Regions from separate parts of the Homo sapiens genome. Here region 1 is linked to region 2. Evidence: promoter capture Hi-C in human tissues and cell types (Jung and others, 2019). All regions are on one chromosome and are shown on one strand. Each heading gives the region's core, a stretch centred on a gene start or on the middle of the fragment in contact. The rest is flanking DNA. Distances are from core to core; before and after follow the strand shown.

The links. Contacts are between HindIII fragments. The study calls those that stand out against the background at their distance.
Region 1: a fragment that was not itself captured here is called in contact with the fragment with the promoter of SH3D21 in region 2 in 1 of the 25 tissues and cell types used here (psoas muscle).

What each region holds. Positions count from the first base shown.
Region 1 is chr1:35,849,451-35,853,036 of GRCh38, forward strand. AGO4 (argonaute RISC component 4) reads left to right here. Exons shown (of 18, transcript NM_017629.4): 16 at 707-808; 17 at 1,404-1,603. Among named protein-coding and RNA genes, the nearest start is that of AGO1, 32 kb to the right of the region's middle. RefSeq lists a silencer at 1-119. The HindIII fragment of the contact is 6,144 bases long and covers 1-3,586 here.
Region 2 is chr1:36,304,128-36,307,686 of GRCh38, forward strand. It overlaps SH3D21 (SH3 domain containing 21), which reads left to right and starts at 2,241. Exons shown (of 16, transcript NM_001162530.2): 1 at 2,241-2,297; 2 at 2,471-2,628; 3 at 2,715-2,778; 4 at 3,040-3,158; 5 at 3,390-3,480. The coding sequence starts at 2,294. It overlaps THRAP3 (thyroid hormone receptor associated protein 3), which reads left to right. Exons shown (of 12, transcript NM_005119.4): 12 at 1-1,230. RefSeq lists silencers at 2,282-2,331, 2,552-2,991 and enhancers at 2,489-3,289, 3,092-3,141. The HindIII fragment of the contact is 33,466 bases long and covers 598-3,559 here.

The DNA.
Region 1 (3,586 bases), core at 804-3,303, 450 kb before region 2:
GGTGGGAGAATTGCTTGAGCCCAGGAGTTTGAGTCCAGCCTGGGCAACAAAATTAGACCCCGTGTCTCAAAAAAAAAAAAAAAAAAAAGCCAGACATGATGGCATGTGTGCCTATAGCCCCCGCTACTCAGGAGGCTGAGGTGAAAGGATTCCTTGAGTCCAGGAGTCCAAGGTTGCAGTGAGCTGTGATCCTCCCAGTGCACTCCAGCCTGGGTGACAGAGTGAGACGCTGTCTCAAAAAAAAAAAAAAAAAAAGTACTAGTTATGTTGAACCTGGTAAACCAGTTTAAAGATTCCTTAATCTTTTACTGAAAATTGTGAATTTTTTTTACTCCAAGTAAGGAATAAAACTTTTTTTCTCAGAAAGTTTATCTATCTTAAATGTTAAATGTTTTTTCCCTTTGTGAACATACCACTGTGTCATCTGTAAATACATAATAATGTTGTAGCCCAAAGCCACGGGTAAAATATTTTTGTCCGTATCCTCCTGAAGAGATCCTGGAACATATTTGTTTGTGAAAATACTATAGGTTAAAATGGTTGGGCTAAGGGAAAGTTACAGAGGATTCAACATCTTGAATGAAAGTGATTTTCAAGACTTAAGAGACATTTACCAACTTGCTCCCAATTAACACACAAAAGAAAAAAATGGCCTGACCACAGTTTGGCACTTTGATGACTAATTACTTTTTTTTGTTTTTTGTAGGTAGGGAAAAGTGGCAATGTACCAGCAGGCACTACAGTGGATAGTACCATCACACATCCATCTGAGTTTGACTTTTACCTCTGTAGTCATGCAGGAATTCAGGTAATTTGGAAGCTGGTTCAGATCTTTGACTTGATAGGGAGATGTTTGCAAATTCAGCAACTAGCTTGAGTCGACTTGTTATTTAACACCGTGCCTAACTTTGTTAATGCTTGTATCCTAGAATTATCTTTTGGTCTAGGTATCTGCTTGTAGGTGTGCTAGGCAGAAGTATTTCTGAGTTTAAGGAGTAGGTTTCAATTATTTTCTCTTCTCGTGTCATGTCAGAAATATATTAATCAGGCCAGGCATGGTGGCTCACGCTTGTAATCCAATCACTTTGGGAGGCCGAAATGGGCAGATCACCTGAGGTCAGGAGTTTGAGACCAGCCTGACCAATGTGGTGAAACCCCATCTCTACTAAAAAAAACAAAAATTATCTGGGCATGGTGGCGTGCACCTATAGTCCCAGCTACTTGGGAGGCCGAGGCAGGAGAATTGTTTGAAGTCCAGAGGCGGGGGTTTCTGTGAACCAAGATCGTACCACTGCACTCCAGCCTAGGTGACAGAGTGAGACTCCATCTCAAAAAAAAAAAAAAAAAAACAAAAACAAAAAACGAACAAAAAAAAAACATTAATCATAAAACTCTCTCCTCAGGGAACCAGCCGTCCCTCACATTACCAGGTCTTGTGGGATGACAACTGCTTCACTGCAGATGAACTCCAGCTACTGACTTACCAGCTGTGTCACACCTATGTGAGGTGCACTCGCTCAGTCTCTATTCCAGCCCCTGCATATTATGCCCGGCTTGTAGCATTTAGGGCAAGGTATCATCTGGTGGATAAAGATCATGACAGGCAAGTTTCTTAGGCACAATAAAGTCTCTTTATATTTTAGTAGCATGTTAAAAAAAATGAGCTACAATAGAAAACTTTTTTAAGGATTTAAACTTTCAGAGTTTAAATTGTAAGAAGCAAATAAAATTGCATGTGCCTCTGAGAGCTTGTAATGTGACTTTTGGTCCAAGAAGTGCTCAGGCTTGTTTATACTTGTGTTGTGTCTCTAAAGGAGTTTAATTTGGAGCTGCTTGTGGTTCTCCCATGGAGCCAAATGCATTTCAGTTCTGCTCAGGTCCTAAGTAGCCTCAAAAAGTGGTCAACACAGTACCCTGGCTCCGGTCAAAGTAGTCACAGGGCTGTGGATTCCACTTCATGCAAGTGAGGAGGCCTGACCAGTTCACTTTGCTTTTGGTACATTCTGGAAAAATACCCCAGAGTGAACCTGGATGTGTGTGTGGGAGTGGGGGCACAGATGATTCTCACTCTCAAATAGGCATCTCAGGAGAATCAGAGAATCTGTTATTTTGACCTATTCCTGAGCTACTATTAAATAGTTACACAAGCTCTCTGCATTAATTTTCTTTTCCAAATGACCATCTGTGAAGTGTAGCAGTTTCTGGGCTCTTCCCCAAGTCTGAATTCAGCTGCTAAATAGTAGACATTCCACTGCAAGTCTATTTCTGTAAGGGTTGAAAATACACTATTATGGAAAATGTCCAACTGTGGCTTTGTACCTTCCATTCCGTAATGTGCTTTCATTTATTCGGCATATTTATTAGGTATTGACTGTGTGCCTAGTACTGTGCTAGGTGCTAGAATTACTAAGATGAGTAAGACATGTTTCTTGTCCACGGGGATTTTATGTTTCAGTATGGGAGACAATACAGGCAAATATACAACTGACAAGTAGCCCAAGTCAGTACAGATAAAAGTGCAATGGGACACCAGAGGAGAGGCTTTTAGAGAAGATTTCATAGCTGGATGGATAGAATGGCTCTACAAAAAAGAGAAAAGAATTTTCAGGGCAGAGAGAACAAGGGACACAAAGGGGAAAAAGCAAGTGGCATGTTTGTACAGTAGCAAATTTTCTTTGGCTGGAGGATATTAAAGGGGAACAAGCAGGTATGAGGCTGGAAAAATATGTTAAAGCAAGACCGTGTTTGTTAAATGTAAAATGCTGTTCCTAGGATAGAATAGACAGGACTTAACAGTTAATTGGATATGCATGTCAGAGGAGAGGGTGAAGTAAAAGATGGCTAAGATTTTGAGCCTAGATGATAAGGATAATAATCACTTAAAGAGAAAGTCAGAAGAGGGATGGGGATTTACAGCTTGTCAAGCCCTTTATATCACATGGTATCCTTAAGTAGTATGTTTAGAAGTTGTTGTTGTTACTCCGAAAGACCAAAGTTCAGAGGAGTTATTATGTGTCCAAGGTTATATAGTTAGTGAAGGGAAGACAAGAAGAGACTGGTGGCACAATAGCATTTGCTGGGAATTTCCTATGTTCCATCACTATGCTAGGTACGTAGATGCATTCATTCAACTAATGGTTTATTGAGACTTTGTTGTATTATGTGCTAGACACCAAGGATACAGTGGTGAGCAAGGTGGACAAAATTGCTGCTTTCTTGGAGTTTATATCCCAGTGGGAAAATAAATAATTACCCAAGTAATAATTTAATTTCAATTGTGTTTAGTACCATGAAAGAAAAATATAGGATTCTGTTAAAGCATGTTCCAGGTGGCTCTGACCTGGACCTTAAAGTCAAAGAAGATTTCTGTGCAGAAAAATGACATTTGACTGAAGCCTAAAGAAATTAGCCAGACATAGTGGGCAGTGGAAATCTTTATATGGATACTGTTAAGGATTGTGTCTTTGCAGACATTATATTATTTAATTCTTGCAGCAGCTCATTAAAGAAGTTCAGTTGGCCTGGCGCGGTGGCTCACGCCTGTAATCCCAGCACTTTGGGAGGCCGAGGCAGGCGGATCACGAGG
Region 2 (3,559 bases), core at 991-3,490:
CCCCACCAGCCGCACAGATTGTACTACCGCGAGAGGCATCCCTGGCGCTGTCTCCCACTGGACAGAGGAGGCTGGCCATGGGGCCCAGGGGTCAGGCCCAGCTTTTGAGCAGAATACAACGCATTGGGCTTTAGCTGTTTTTCTCATTTGTTGGTGTGTGGGGTGGGGGCAGGGGTAGGGCGGGAGAGCGATGCTTGGATTTTTGTTTCCTATTAGAAACCAACAGTTTTGTTCTAATTTCATTTCATTTGGAGCTAAGATGACTAATTTGATGATTTTCGATCTCTTTTCCCCTGTCCTGATTTTAAAAGCCCCCTCCTTTTTTTTTTTTTTTTTCTTTTTTTAGGCATATGTAGTAATATTAGAAACATTTAATTTGGGAAACTTTGATTCTTGAAAGAGAAAACAAAAGCATGTGAATAAACTTTGAAGTGTTCACCTCAGTTTGGGACCAAACTGCTTGGATCTTTGTAAAAACCGGTTTTGTATGTCAAGGAGGAGTTTAAGGCCTTTCCGACCACCTTGTGTTCCCCTTTTCTGCGCAGCCATGTATCACGTGGAGTTGCTCCTTACCACACCTCACGTGCCCCTGAGCCCTATTTCCTGATTTCTTCTGGGCTGGACTTCCCCGTTCTCCACCAGCAGCTCCAGTATCCCAAACTTTCTAGTCCTGCTGATCCTCCCAGCAACGGGGTGGAAACTGGAGGGCAGTGTCTGGTCTGTTTTCTAAGAAACTTATGAATTCTATTATCTTTACAAATATGAGAAAATTTTTTCAATATTTTTTATTAATCTTTTTATAAAATGAAAAGAAACTCCTATGATCGATTAAGGAAGGTGGTTATGGCTGGGTGGTTCAGGGGTTTTTTTGGGTTTCTTTTTTTTTTTCTTTGTCTTTTTAACCTTAAGCTGTTTAAGTTGAAGCATTCTCAGATGTTTGGGGGGAAACATCCTCTTAAAATGGGTCCTTGTGCTTGCCTTCTGGGGAGGCGGTCCTGAGCAGGTGAATCATAAGGCATTTATGCATATGTTATATGCGGACTGCACCCACCTCTCCCCCCCAGCCTTTGCCTCTTGCGTTGTTGTGCTGCTTTCCCCTTACTTTGCTACATTTCTATAGTTAAGTTGGTTTTACTTGAATGATTCATGTTTAGGGGGAAAATGAAAATCTCCCTTAAAATTTGTTTCAACTCCTCCTGCAAATAAAATAAATGAAGTGGCAGATGTAAACGGGTTCTGTTCATTGTCATCCTGAGTGTGTGTGTGTGTTGAGGGTGGTAGATAACTTCCCACGGCAGTTTCAGAAAACCTGAAAGACAAAGGGCCTGTGGGGCCTTGCGCAGGCTGCTGGAGTCCCAGACAGACACAGTCCTTCCTGGGAGGAGCATTGTGTACCTTGGACACCCCAGGAGAAACAGATTTTTTCCACTGGTGTCATAGGCAAGGACTTTGGCTTCCTTCATCATGGTGGTGGGGCAGGGATCAAGGGATGTGGTTAGTAGGCTCAGCCTTCTACCTGAAAGAGCCTATCCCACATGGACTGGCCATAGGGTGGGCCCTAACCTTCAGACTCCTGCCGGCTGGGGACTCAACTGTGAGCAGAAATCTTGGAAGCTGGTAAAATTCATTCTCCCGGCCTAACTCCCAGGGAAAACCTGGAGGTGTTTTCTGAAACCAAACTAGACCTCTGGCCCCAAAGCAGGGGTCTTTGCTGTGTCCTTCCTATATGGGGGTAGAGAGTGGGTACGGGGCCAGAGAGGAGTACGCCTTGAAGGAAAGCAGACTGGAAGTGTCCACTCAAAGCTATTGCTGGTACAAGGGCAGCCACTTCATTCACTCAAGGCCGGTTTAGAGCGGTTGCTACTTGCTGGGGGGCCCCACCCTGGTATGTGCCTCTCCCCACCTTTTCCCCTCAAGCCAAAAGCTTGTGAGCTGGGGAAGGGTGGGCCTGGAAAGGCTCTGTGCAAATTGTAGCTGGGAGCCTCCGGGCAAAAGCTGAGGGAAAGGGAGAGGCGGCTGGCCTAAAATTTAGGTGGGCGGAAGAACCTGTGACGGAGCTGTGACCGCTGCACAGGCCAGAGACCCTGGAGTCCTCCTCACCCCGGGGTTGGGGGCCGGACCTGCTGAGCCGGGCCGCCCCCTCTCCACACCCACTCCCAGCACCTGGCCCGACCTATCGGCTGGCGGCTACGCCTCCTTTACCCTACTGTCTTGCCTCAGGTCGCACCCTGCGCGGGCCCAGTACTCGGCCGTCAGAGGGAGCTGCCAGGCTCTGGAGGGCGCCCCGGAAACCATGGGTAAGTGCGGAGGCTTTGAGGTGGCCTCTCTCTGCAACCGTGGACATAGCAAGAGCCCACACCACCCCCCGACCCCCGCTGCCCTCTACGGTGCTTGGGGACACGCCCGCCCTAGCCAGGCTGCCCGGCTGGGCCTTTCTGAGCCGCACGCCGGCCCCGTCTTCCGCCCGCAGAAGTCCTCGTCCTGGCCGGATACCGCGCGCAGAAGGAGGACGAGCTGAGTCTGGCGCCCGGGGACGTGGTCCGGCAGGTGCGCTGGGTGCCCGCGCGGGGCTGGCTTCGCGGAGAGTTTGGGGGCCGCTATGGCCTCTTCCCCGAGCGCCTGGTGCAGGTGAGGCCGAGCCAGGGGCGGGCTGTGGGGTCTCAGCGCGCGCCCCCCGGGAGCTGAGAGCGCCTTCCCCGTGCCCTGATTCCCAGGAGATCCCAGAGACCCTGCGGGGCTCCGGAGAGGCGCGGAGGCCGCGCTGTGCGCGCCGCCGAGGTGAGCGCAAGGGCGGGGACGGGCGCCGGTGGGCGGGTGCACGGAGCCAGTGCGACCCCGGCGTCTCCGGCTCTTAGTGACGGGCGCGGCTCTGGGCGGGACCTCGGGGCCGCCCTGCGGTCTGTGATTGGTTCTCGAGTGCAATGCTCCGCCCTGGGGCGGGGCTGGAGGGACCAAAGGCTACGTGCGCGCCTTGCGCTTCCCCCAGCTCCTCTGACTGGGGCGTCCGACTGGAGCTCAGCCGCGCTTGTCCGGTGCTAGGTCATCCTGCCAAACACCCGAGGCCCCAAAGATGGTGCAAAGTGAACTTCAGCTACAGCCCAGAGCAGGCGGACGAGCTGAAGCTGCAAGCTGGGGAGATCGTGGAAATGATAAAGGAGGTGAGGGGTGAGGTGATGGGACCGTTTGGGGGAGGATGATGGAACGCGCCTCCCTAGTGAGCGGGGTGGGAAGTGAGGGTGTGGACGGTGGGAATGGCGACGGTGCAGATACGGGGAAGCGCGGGAGGGAAGGAGGGAGGAAGGGGCGCTTGGGCAGAACCAAGGGTGGCAGATTATCCTAGGGACTCTTGGGGCAGAACCAGACGCCTCTGCGTCCTCCCCTCTCCCCAGATTGAGGACGGCTGGTGGCTGGGGAAGAAGAACGGGCAGCTGGGAGCCTTCCCATCCAACTTTGTGGAATTGCTGGACAGTGGGCCCCCAAGTGAGACCTCGACTCTGTGACCCTGTGACTCGCAATCTCCAATGACCCTCCCAGTGGCATGAGCCTGTGATTCACATAT